Regions from separate parts of the Homo sapiens genome. Here region 1 is linked to region 2. Evidence: promoter capture Hi-C in 16 types of primary human blood cells and fetal thymus (Javierre and others, 2016). All regions are on one chromosome and are shown on one strand. Each heading gives the region's core, a stretch centred on a gene start or on the middle of the fragment in contact. The rest is flanking DNA. Distances are from core to core; before and after follow the strand shown.

The links. The method cuts DNA at HindIII sites, captures the fragments that hold promoters and counts their contacts. A CHiCAGO score of 5 or more calls a contact.
Region 1: a contact is called between a fragment that was not itself captured here and the fragment with the promoter of UFM1 in region 2, in 6 of 17 cell types (monocytes, naive CD8 T cells, total B cells and 3 more). The highest score is 9.7, in monocytes.

The regions. Positions count from the first base shown.
Region 1 is chr13:36,338,941-36,345,515 of GRCh38, reverse strand. All of the region lies in intron 1 of SPART (spartin), which reads left to right. Among named protein-coding and RNA genes, the nearest start is that of SPART, 4.2 kb to the left of the region's middle. The HindIII fragment of the contact is 2,041 bases long and covers 2,234-4,274 here.
Region 2 is chr13:38,345,635-38,351,931 of GRCh38, reverse strand. It overlaps UFM1 (ubiquitin fold modifier 1), which reads right to left and starts at 2,081. Exons shown (of 6, transcript NM_016617.4): 1 at 2,011-2,081; 2 at 1,877-1,933. The coding sequence starts at 2,012. RefSeq lists silencers at 1,530-1,744, 2,442-2,551 and an enhancer at 2,122-2,331. The HindIII fragment of the contact is 2,541 bases long and covers 1-2,503 here.

The sequences.
Region 1 (6,575 bases), core at 2,005-4,504, 2.0 Mb after region 2:
ATTGTATCATAATTTAACGAATTTGCGTTCCAGGTTGTTACAGCCTTTGAAATAATGGCCTCATATTTAAGAATGTAGCAATTTTTCTTTGAAATTTCCGAAAGTGGGGAAAAAAGTAATAGAAGACTGCACCTATATGGAATTATTTTCTGATTCGCAGTTCTTTATAATCGTAGACTTAATTTGGTGGCTTTATTGGACCTGTTTGAAACAGGAAGCCTTTCTGTAATGTGGTTTCGGGTCGGCTTCACCTCTGGCACTCTCTGAAACGTCGTTGTCTATGGTTTCCCTAAGAAGCTAGAATGAGCGGGATGCTACGGAGGGAGGTGTATACAGGTGTTAGACAAAGCCCCCTCCGCTTTTTTGGTAAAGGGCCAAATAGGCATTAGATCAACTTGTGCTAGCTCTAAGGAGTTAAATGCGGTATTATTAAAGACTGCTTGTAATGTTGACTGTTAAGTGAGAGTGTTACTTCTTTCAGTGTTTATGGAATCGAACTAAATTGCTAGGTATTTTAATGCAGAATTTTACCTTTTCTCGGGTATTTTTTAAGACATACACAGACATACATGTAGTTATGTTGAAATAAATGTGTTTTATTAGAACGTTAAAAAATTAGAATTTAGGTGAACTACTGGTATCGGAACAGATTTTGGTTTGTTGTTGAAGACTGTACACTGGTGTAGGTACTGTTTAATACATCAGATTGTCATTTCAAAGACTTTGTCTTCTTAACTTTGAAAATTAAATAATGTGAAATAATGTGATAATGGTTTTTATCTTTTCAGGACACTTGATTGACACTTAATTGTGCTTAGGAATAGAATAGGCTTTTTTTTAAGTCACCATCCTCCAATCCTTATTTCTGTAAAATGTATTTTCTGAGACCGCTGAGGATATAGCAAATCCCAGTCACAAAATAAAAATGTGATATTTTAATATAAACCTTTTTCTTTCTGTGTTGAGATTCCCCAGAGATTAGACTGAAATTGACCATTAGACTTATATATAACCTCTAGATACCCAGGCTCTTCTCTCGTGTATCCTTTTTTTCTCTTTAAGATGGAGATGTAGCAAGGAAGGTTATTAAGCAATCCTGTGGAATTAGCCCTCCCACTCCACCCCTACACACAGGCACACTCTTCTTTCTCAGTAGCCATCTTGTTCCCTCCATTGACACATTATTAGGAAATCTTTCATCACACCGTATGTAAAATAAGCTTAGAAATAAACGTATACCCAAGGTAAATATTGCTTCTAGCTATATTCCTTCATTATGCCTCGCTTCTACTTTCAAATGCTACCTATTGAAGATTTAAGCCACATGACTTTCTACGACGGGACACTCTGGGTTTTCTTCACCCCTCCCTCACTCTGCTGACTTGTAAACATAGTAGGACTTTTAGATTTGGAATCAAACACATCTCATCTAATTTTCATTTTCATTTTTCTTTTCTTTCTTTCTTTTTTTTTTTTTTTTAAAGAGACAAGGTCTTGCTCTGTCACCCAGGCTGGTTGGAGTGCAGTGGTGCAGTCATAGCTCACTGCAACCTTGAACTTCTGGGCCCAAGCGATCCTCCGGCCTCAGCCTGTGCAGTAGCTGGGATTACAGGCGAGAGCTCATTTAATTTTCTTGACAGATAATCTTCTGATCCATGAACTGATTTGAATGTATCATTTACTAGCTCTCTTCTTGGGCAAGCTGCTCAATATTTGTAAAACATTTTTAAAATCAGATATCAACCTCCAAGAGTGAGGATTGGATAACCTTAGAAGGGTGCCAGACACATATAGAGAGCTTAACAAAAGATAGTAAATTTTGGTGCTTCTGAGGGCCAGAGACAGACCATGTCCATTATATCTTTGCTATATATTATAGTTGTGAGTGATTTTTAAAGCAGTACTTTTAATTTGCTTGTGAACCCCCAAATAATTTTTGTAAAACTGTCCCTCTTGCACACTTTTGGTTAACTTACAGCATTTTACATCATGCGTTAGTTGAAAAGAATGCAGTTTCCCACATGGTATTGATATTAACATTTTAATATTGGTACATCATTCTTTCACCTGTATTCAGTGGGGTATCATATCTTTGTAGTTTTATATCCATCACCATCAATTTTTAAAATACATTATATTTTACACACTTCCTTTTTTAAAAAATTTTACTTTTTTATCACCCCCACCCCACAGAATATTATCTTAAGGTAATGCATTTTTATGCTTGAAAGCTTTTTATTAATCTCTGTGATACATGGCTTTAATAACAATAGTTATATAAATTGAAGCTAAGTTTAAAAATTTCCTATAACTAATTCTGTAAGTTGTAATTTTTCTTTTGGGTTGAGTTATTATAAATAGTTGATTAGAATAGCTTAAAAACTTGATGGATTTTAATGAATAATAATTATTAAGAGTAGAAGTTTACTGGAAATCTGTGTCCTAATGGAATGGATAGTGGGAGTTGTGCCTAAATTAAAGGAGGGTCTTTGAGCCCTTCGACTTATTGTTTGTTGGTAGGGAGGCTTTTCCATCCTGGGGCAGTGTACCATAGTAAGAATAGGAGTGGGTGAGAAGTATGCCTTTATTTTGTAAAGTGGAAGATTGTGAAAGGATCTTGGGGAATAAAAATCAGCATGATAACTGGACAATGGGCATATTCTCAGGCAGATCAGTTTAGTGAGAAGTACTCATGGGAGTAAAGGATCTGGAAGCCTTTTTCTTAAAATTACACATGTCGTTGGTGTATGTCCCATGGAAGACTTCATTTGTCCTGGGGGGCACACATCCCCCAGTTTGAAGACCATTTAGAGTGGTAATTCTCAGTGGGGGACGATTTTGCTGCCCAAAGTACATTTGGCAATGTCTGGAGACGTTTTTGGTTGTCACAACCGGGATGAGGGGTGGTGCTGCTATGGGCATCCAGTGGACAGAGATCAGGGATGCTGCTAACAAAGCATTATCCAACCCAAAATGTCAACCATGCCAAGACTGAGAAACCCTGATTTAGAGGATTTGTTTTGGAATCAGACTATTTAATTCTGTAAACTAGTGCAGGGTCAGTAAACTTTTTTTGTTAAGTGCCAGATAGTAAATATTTTAGGCTTTTGGGGCCATGTATGATCTCTGTTGCACATTCTTCTTTGTTTTTATAACCTTTAAAAAATGTAAAAGTAATTCTTAATTCCAGGGTCTTTCAGAAAACAGGTGATCTAAGGCAATTAATGCTTGCAAACTTCAATTTTCTTCTCTGCAAAGTAGTACTAATAGTAATATTGCATCAAGAATTGTTTGTAAGGATTGAGATAAACACCTAGCATACTGTCCAGCATATGTTAAGTACTCTAAATGATGCGTGGGGATAGTGGTGTCCTATCGTATGTAGCACAAAAGTGGGTGCCAAGTCACAGTGTTGTTCAAGACCCTGTTCAAGTCATTTGGACAAATTTAATGATGCTGGTGAAGCTCCCAATCAACTCACAGATGCCTATTTAACCTCTGCTGTCTTTCTGCTGCCTTAGTCTGGGCCTCCTTGTATCCTGAGGAAGATAAAATACAAAATGCCTGTCTTGTGGTTTCTTTGGAAAGATGTGGCAATCTTATGACACAACAGGATAGTATTCCAGGAGAAGAGATTGTTAATATTGATAGGGGTTGTGGGGTAGAGCAAATACGTGGGTCTGTATATGGTCAATTGTATATGGTATTTTCTAAATTGGGTACTGAATATATTCTGTTGACTACCATGAAGTTGTTGCATAATAAGGCTGACTAGTGGCACTTCAGGTTAGAAAGTATAGTTATATTATTAATCGGAAGCTAGACCAATTTTAATGAATGCTTTCTGTGATGCTTCTGTGCTTTCATAGTGTAGATTGCTGCTAAAATAGTTTCATATCAGTGAAATTCTTCTATCGTAAGTTTTCATGAGATCACAGGAAAAGAATTGCCACATCTAATGACAGTAGCCACTAGGTACATGTGGATATTGAGCACTTGCAATGGGGTTAGTTGGAATTGAACTATCTTTTCAGTGTAAAACACATACTGAGTTTTGAAGACTTCATACCAAAAAAAAGAAAGCTAAAATATTTAACTGAAAGTTTTTATATTAACTGCATATTGAAATAATATTTTTGATATATTTGGATAAATAAGATACTATCATTGAAATTAACTTCACCTGTTTTTTACCTTTTTAATGTTATTAGAAAAGTATAAATTACATATGTGGCTTGCATTACAGTTCTGTTTGACATAGTTGCTCTAAAGCTTCCATTTACTTTTTTAATAGTAATTAAATTTTCTATCATACACATAGATTTAAGAAAAATCTTACCCCTTCCTCCCAAAGTCAGCTTGTATCATTTTTCTTACCCAATTCTTTTGGTCTTTTTTGTACTCTAAACAGTGCGAATATATTGGCACTTTTTCAGTTTTAGGCACTGTCCATTAACTTCTCAGTGAGAAAGATGAAGTTTTATCTCTTTCATCCTTTGTCGCATGCACATAAACTTTTTATCCATCCATCTTCCCATCTTTCAATATGGTTGTACCATAATTTTGTTTATATTGAGATTCATTGTGTATATTATGACACCAATCAAAACTGAAACATTTAGTACATTATGATTACTTTTTATTTCTTGCTCAACATCATTTTCCCTAGAGTTAATCCTTAGTTTTTAATTATTACTAATGGAACCCTGAATACTCTCACAGTTGTGTAGATCTTTTTTCAGAGCTTACAATCACATTAGGTATTCTATCAGTTTTACTTTCTTAAAAAATTCTTTTCTGTTGTCTCCTACTCCACCCTGGAGTGTTTGCCTAATTGTTATCTTGGAAACTCATCATCAGTCTTGGGATTCCTTTCATCAAACATGGTACCCAGCAAACAGAAGATGTAATAACTGAGCAATCACTTGGCTGGGTTTAGAAGCTATTTTTACTCAGAATTATGAATTAAATGTATAATTTCCTTCTTCTATTGTTGCCTTTAAGAAGTTCCTTAGCACTCTTACTTCTCTCTCTTTTTTTGTGTGTAAGTATTTTAAAGATGATCCTTTTGAGCTTAGTGTTCTAAAATGTCATGGTATGTTTCTTGGTGTGAAATCTTTTTTTCTTATTTATTTATTTATTTTTATTTTTTTGAAACAGAGTCTTGCTCTGTCGCCCAGGCTGGAGTGCAGTGGTGTGATCTCGGCTCACTGCAAGGTCCGCCTCCCGGGTTCAAGCAATTCTCCTGTCTCAGCCTCCTGAGTAGCTGGGACTACAGGCGCCTGCCACCACGCCTGGCTAATATTTTTGTATTTTTAGTAGAGACAGGGTTTCACCTTGTTAGCCAGGGTGGTCTCGATCTCCTGACCTTGTGATCTGCCCACCTCAGCCTCCCCTTTTTTTCTTATTTTTTGCCCATTGGTTTTTTTATTTACTTTTATTTGTTAGAGATGGGGTCTTGCTCTTTCAACCCAGGCTGGAGTACAGTGGTGTGATCATAGCTCACTGCAGCCTTGAATTCCTGCACTCAAGTGATTCTCCTGCCTCACTTCCTGAGTAGCTGGAACTACAGGCACGCGCCAGCATGTCTGGCTAATTTTTTGATGTTTTCTTTGTAGAGCTGGTCTCACTATGTTGCCCAGGCTGATCTCAAACTCCTGGACTCAAGCGATCCTCCTGTCTCAGTCTCCTAAAGTGCTGGGATTACAGGTGTCAGCCACTGTGCCCAACCTGTTGGTCTTTTTAAATTAGGAAATTCATGTTTTCCAATTCTAGGAAATTCTATGAATTATTTCTTTAATTCTTTCATCCCTTATTTTTTCTCTGTTCTCTATTTCTAGGAGGTTTTTTGTTTGTTGGTTGGTTTTTTTTTTTTTTTTTTTTTTTTTGATGGAGTCGTGCTCTGTGAACAGGCTGGAGTGCAGTGGCATGATCTCGGCTCAGTGCAACCTCTGCCTTCCGGGTTCAAGCAATTCTCCTGTCTCAGCTTCCTGAGTAGCTGGGGTACAGGTGCATGCCATGATGCCCTGGAAATTTTTTTGTATTTTTAGACGGGGTTTCACCATATTGGTCAGGCTGGTCTCGAGCTCCTGACCTCAGGTGATCTGCCCGCCTCAGCCTCACATATTTCTAGAAGTTTTATTATTCAAATGATATGCCTTATAGACTGGGTCCTAATTTTCTTATTTATTATTGCCTATTTTTCATCTCTGTCTTTTTGCTCTGCTTTCTGGGCATTTTCTATAATTGTATGACCTCATCCTTCTTGAGTTTTTCCTTCCTGCGTTTTAAATATTTAATTTCCCGGAGTTCCTTTTGTCACTCGAATATCCTTCTTTCAGTATGCACGCATCCCACTTTTTATTTTATGGATGCGATATTTTCTTTTTCTTTATGTTGATATAAATGATAGGGTTTTTTTTTTTACGTTTCCTGCACATTGTCCATTTCAACCAAATTACATTGCTCTTCTTTTAATCCTTTATACTGGATGTTTGCCTCATGTTTTGTGATCCTGGGCTGTGTGTGTGTCTGTGTGTGAGTGTGTGCGTGTGAGTGAAGCACTAGAAAGCTGA
Region 2 (6,297 bases), core at 832-3,331:
AAGAAAATATAGCACAGATACCCTTGTACACACATTTACACGTTATGTGAATTTTCCACACACACATCCTTATACACATACACACACAACTACACACGCACACATACATACTAAACAACAGTTGTACCTACTAAATTCATTCAGTCACCACATATTAACTGAACTGGTACAATGTTCCAGGCTCTTAATGTTATTGTCCTACTCTATCATTTTCTTCCTTCCTTCTCACGCTCTCTTTCGAGTACATTTGCATATTGATGAGAATAATCCAGTAGAAAGGGAAAAACCAATCATGAGGAGAGAGGGGGCACTGGACTCCATCTACTTTAACCTTGACAAGACTGAAATAGATGGGAACTATAGCTCAAGTGGTTTTTCATAGGAGTGAAGTCATTTTTTCCATTCTAACAGGATGGGAAATTAACGGATTTATCCATGTAGTGGTAGGTTTACATTGGTGTAAAGATGATAGAATTTCCCTCTGATGGCTTGATAGCAAGGGAGACAGCAGCTGTGGAAAGTTTGAAATTTTTAAACAATCTTTTCTGAGAATAAGGAGGAAAATGAGCAAACTTGAAGAATGTATTAAGTACTAGGTACTATTAATTGTAGTCATGAATTTAATGTAAACCCTCCAGTCTGTTATTTTCTCCAGGGGCAGTCAGCTATGTACAGATAATACAAACAGCTGGTTTCAGAGTTGGTGTTTCACTAACCAAAATATGCTGAGAGGAGAGACAGGGCCACCAGAGTTGAGGGTGTTTGCATGAGAATGATTTAAAGGTGGACCAATGGACTCTTAACTATATAAGGAGTAAGGTAAGGAATAGAAGTGGGGATAGCTACAGATAAAAAATCACTGTGATTAATGGATTAAATGAAACGTTGTAGATGAGAAATTATAGTAAATCATGTAGGAGAGAATGTATTTATCCATAAGAGTGCCTGTAAACGACATCTCAGAGATGGAGCAATTATTGGAATCTTAAGGTTCTAGGCTGCAACCATGAACACCTGAGATAAAGTGTAACAGGGATATTTTGGAGATGAAAAGATCAAGGGAGGAAAAGGCTGAGAGGTTGTACGGATCATGGATTGGTAAATCATTGAAATTTATCAGTCAGCTAGGTAGGCCAAGGTACTAATTAATTATGCAAAAAATTCTATTGTAATCCTGTTCTTTGCTACATTTCATGCTACTTCCAACTGCAATAACCTCAAGAGTGTTTACTTAAAATCTATCACTCAACTGCGAAGGATAAGTAAAGGCCCCACATGGATAAACTATCCCCTATCTGCATTTCCCATTCCTACCAAATACTCTATTAAATCCCAGCATAGGAAGGGTGTGATCTGAGTCTCATTACTTTGTGATGCCCGACTGCTGAGTTACTCATACACAACGAAACTCAGAAGCCGCGGAATAACAAATGTTCAAGTAATTTCAAAGTCTTGACTATCAAGATGGAATGTCTTCCTTAACTTCCTCAACCAGCTGGCCAAAGCGGTGAAACGCTTTTCTAATATCCAGCAGATGGGGACTGTTTAAGAATCCCAACAAATTACCAGAACCTGGTCCACCTGTCCTCCCGCGCCACCTGCCCACCAAATGAATTCCGAGGGGAGGTCACTAATCAGAAACACACCCACACCCTCGTGACGGGGCCAAGCTGCCAAGCTGACACTTAGCGAGCAAGTACGGACCTCTCCTCGCAGGCTCCGGTGGGAAAGGCTCCTGGAAGGGCGCGAGCCAGGAAAGTAGATGAAGTGAAGAGATGAAGACTGCGTGGGGTAGTTGTTGGAAAAGCTCGGATCATCCCCAACCCAGCCCCGTCTTGTCCGGCCCCAAAAGGCCCATCTCGGCCGAGCTACTCACACTTTGTACGGCAGCCGTGGGTCCGACGTCAGCGTGATCTTAAAGGAAACCTTCGACCTGAGGAAAAGAGCGGGAGAGAGTCAGGGTCGGGCAGCTGGACCAGGAATTATGGCAGTCGGTAAGCAAACACTTACATGGTGGTGCCGGAATGAATCCAGAACACACGACAACTCCGCGGGGGTAGCACGACTTCCTCTAGTGTGCTGGGGACCGCCCCGCTCCACTCACGTCCACGTCTCCCTCTGCAATCTGGGGACCTCCGAAGTTGTTGCTATCCAACGCACTGCCTGAAAATTGGCCCTAAGAGCTCATGCTAGATGGCGCTTTTAAATTACAAATATCTTGTGCTTTTGCGTTTATATATCTAAGAAAAAAGTATGGATTATATTTATAAGATATCTTTCTAACTTTGGTAATTTGCTACCATATTTTTAGTCAGGCAGAATAAGCGTGGGCATAGAGCGTAGGACCCTAGGTTCCAGTTGGCAGGTTGGGGCGGAAGTAAGGGTATGGGGTAGTCGGATGAAGAGCGAGATGGACTTGGGGCGAAGCTCGGGGCGAGGCCGGGGGCGGGGCTGGGGCGGACGCGCTCTAAAGTTTCTAAGGCAACCTGAGCGCGGAAAAGCTTAATTGGTGCTCCAGAAGCAGGAATTGTAACACTGCTTTATCATTAGTTTTCTTCCGTCTTTCCAGCAAACCAATCCTGTTATATCCTTTACATTTCTCATAGTTTCTCCTTCACGCTTTACTTTCCGATACTGATTTATAACTATTGAATTTCGGTTAAGTAAGAGAGCTATCAAGTACGAATTATCTATGCCAAGACTCCCGCTGGGGTGGGTGAGAAAAAATGAGGTTTCTACGTTTGGGGAACGTGGCGTCTAGTTGGGAAGACACATCTATGAACAGGAGATTTCAGTAATTTGTTATATGGTCTAATTAAACCAGTGCGCTGAGTTGCTAATCACTGACCACATTTATTCAATTTAACAACCAACTTTGAACCCTTTCTATTTGCCCGGCGCTAAGCTAAACTCTGGGGAATCCAAGATGAGTAAGGCAGGTAGGCGTCAACTCTCTAGGATCTAACATCCTGTGTAGTGATGACGGAAGAAAATTGTCCTCTAAACTTTATTACAGATCTAAACCTCTGTGTTTGGAAAATATGCGTCTGTCTCACAATGACTGAAATGCCCTTTTAAAACATTAGCATGAATAGACAAAGGAGGAAGCAGGTAGGCATTAAAATAATGGGGCAATCTAGTTGATCTTTAGAATATGCATCAGATTCTTAAGGAGAGATACTTAAGAGAGGAACCAGGAAGGAACTGTAGTAGGGATAATGGAGATCAAATTCATCTTTACAATAATTTTGCAGCCAACTGATCTTCTATGGTGACATTTCCCAGTGGAGAGAGTTCTGGTTCTGAGTAGGCAAGTAAGACTCCAACATTCTCATGACAGCCATCCTCACTTTTTAAAATAATGGTCTTACCATATATGTAGATGAAGCCAAATATTGATTGACAGATACAGGGATCAACAGTTACAGCCTTAATAGCTGAAACTATTCAATTAGTGGGTGTGACTAAAACTTGTGAGAATAGTAATAAGGATAAAACTGTGATTGTGTCTACCTATTGTCAGCTAGCCAAATAATAATGAAAGAGATGAGTGTACATATTTACAGTCTATAAGACTACATATAATATATTTTGAAACAAAATTTGCATCCTGCTATTTATAGTTTGGTTTCTGCTCATGAATCAAAACGTGGCAAAATCCTAAAGAGAAAAATGGATATTAATCAGAGAGCTTTTATTGTATGTATAAAAAGTGGTGAAAACAGAATTCAGTCCCACAGTGTGACTTTAGTACTCAGATTCTGCTGCTTCAGAAAATACATTTGTATAATATATCAAAATAACATCTCTTGAGATATTAAAAAGCAGCTGTTTCTAAATATTTAGAATTCTTTTTCACCTCAGTCCCCAACTCTGCTTCTCATGTTTGTCTCCTCAGAGTCACAGCATGATTTCTGCAGCCTCCTGAGTTTTATTTTGCTTAGGACAAGAAAGAAATTATAAATGGATTTATTTATAATCAATTTTTTTAACTTTGTGAAGGGATTTGCAATTGGAAAATTTTATAGCAAAACAAGGACCTTCTCTTTTACTGAAAAGTTAAAATGTTGAAGTACGTTTAATGGCTGTAATCAGAAGCAAACTCTGGAGCAAATTTTTGGAGATAATTGGCAATGGAACATTTTAAGACAACAAATAGCATAAATGGCCTAATGTGTTTTGGAAAAGATCCAATTAGTATCATGTAGAGGCAGAAATGACTGTAGAAGTGCACAGTGTGACCATGTTAGACCTCATTAAATGTCAATGAAGCATACCAATATTCTATTTGCAAATGCATATAAATTTCCCATTATTAGAAGAAAGCCAGAAGGAAATTAAATTTACATAAGGACTAAAAAGATTTGCTTCCATAGTCATAGAAATTCTTCTGACTAGTTATTTTTATAGCCAACTTTATTTTTTATATTCCTCTGGATGCCAAAAAAAATTCTTTCATTTTCACCATAATTTGATTGTATTTACGATTATGACTAGAACCATCTGATAGTCAAATTATGTAATCTTGAAACATCTGCACCTGAATAAATCTTAAGGTGTTCTATTCCAAATACTTTATATTACAGGGAACAAATTATAGACTGATCAATTAATAATTGACTGGTATTTTAATAGTACTTTAATTTGTTCATTTTTTTCTATTGCCTTTTCTCCCCTCAAAATCCACTAAAAGGCATTGATATAATTGAAGCAATGATAATAATGACTCAAAATTCATTAAGATTTATTTTTGGCTGGTATTAACCACTTTGTACAAATCAATGACAAAATATAGACTTTAAACTTTGATGCCTTGGCTATAAGTCATAATTTAGTGACAAGAAGCCTTATACAAAGAGGAGAGAGTGGATTTGGTTACAGAAGTACTTGGGAATATGTAAATGCTGTGTTATTTTTCAAGGTAAGGACTAGAAGGTTAGAGAATATTTACATTCCTTTGAGTCAAAAAGAACAATGAAACCCAGGTGAGATCGGAGCCTAGCAAGTCCAGGCAAGCCCTTACAGAAGACTATAGCTCTAAATGTGCTACATTTGATTGTTACAGTTACATATTTTTCCCAAATATTTTCTAAAATTCAGTGAGAAAAAGAAATGACTTTTCTACGAAGCTCATTGACTACAATGTTTCTAAATTTGAGGCTTAATCACAAAACGTGGAATATTTTAACCACAGAATTTGTAAAATATCTTTATTACAAAATGGCATTTTGAACTGTGAAAAACAGGAATTTAACAGTCTGGTATAATTAAATTTTCTCTCTAAATATTGTGCGAATTCTTCATTTAATGGAAACATTACTTTTAGAAAAACTGAAGTAGCCTCTGACAAATCCATTTCAACCATGAGTTTTTTTTTTCCACATTTACATATTTTTATCCTTCCACCAGCTAAATGAGGTAAATATTAATGTTCTATTTTTACTTTTCTCTATTAACTTAAGGTTTTCTGATTCAAGTTGAGATTTTTAGATCCATTTGTAGTTTCTCCCCACATGACTCTTCTTGCAGTTTTATGTAGAATACAGGCTTCAGAGGACTGTGACGTCTGGTCCTTTGTCATCATCTCTCCATATTCTCAGTGATATTTGTGTCCACTCCAAACATCTGAGACACATGACATCTCATTTTTGTCTGGTGATATCACTCCTTTTTGTGTGCTGGCAAGACGACTTTAGGACTGTTTGTTGTCTCTAAGGGATGTAAGAAAAGTGCCCTCTTGTACCACCCTGTGGCTATAGGGAACCCAGAAGAGCTCAGACATCTTTGACTAAAGATAACATGTTTTCTCCCTAGAATGAAGGGAACTTTGTTGTCTTCCTGGGCTTCAATGGGAGCAGGAACTGGGCATCTTTTCTCTGATTCTGAAATTCCCTAGAGATTGTTTCCCTAGGGATGAAGGAATAGGGCCATATTTCGGGGAGACCTTACAATGTTTATCATTTTCTTCTCCTCCTTTCTCCAGCCCAGAGTATTTTTTTATAGACTTTATTTTTTAGAGCAGTTTTAGGTTCACAGCAAAATTGAGCAGATAAAGATACTTCCTATCCCTATATATTCATAGCCTCTCACATTTTCAACATCCTTCAGCAGAGTGGTACGTTTATTACGGATGATGAGCCCACATTGACACATCATTATCACCCAGAGCCCATAGTTCACATTAGGGTTAACTCTTGGTGTTGTACATTTTATGGGTTTAGACAAATATACATTGACATGTATCTACCATTATAGTATCATACAGAATAGTCCACTGCCCTGAAAGTTCTGTGCTCC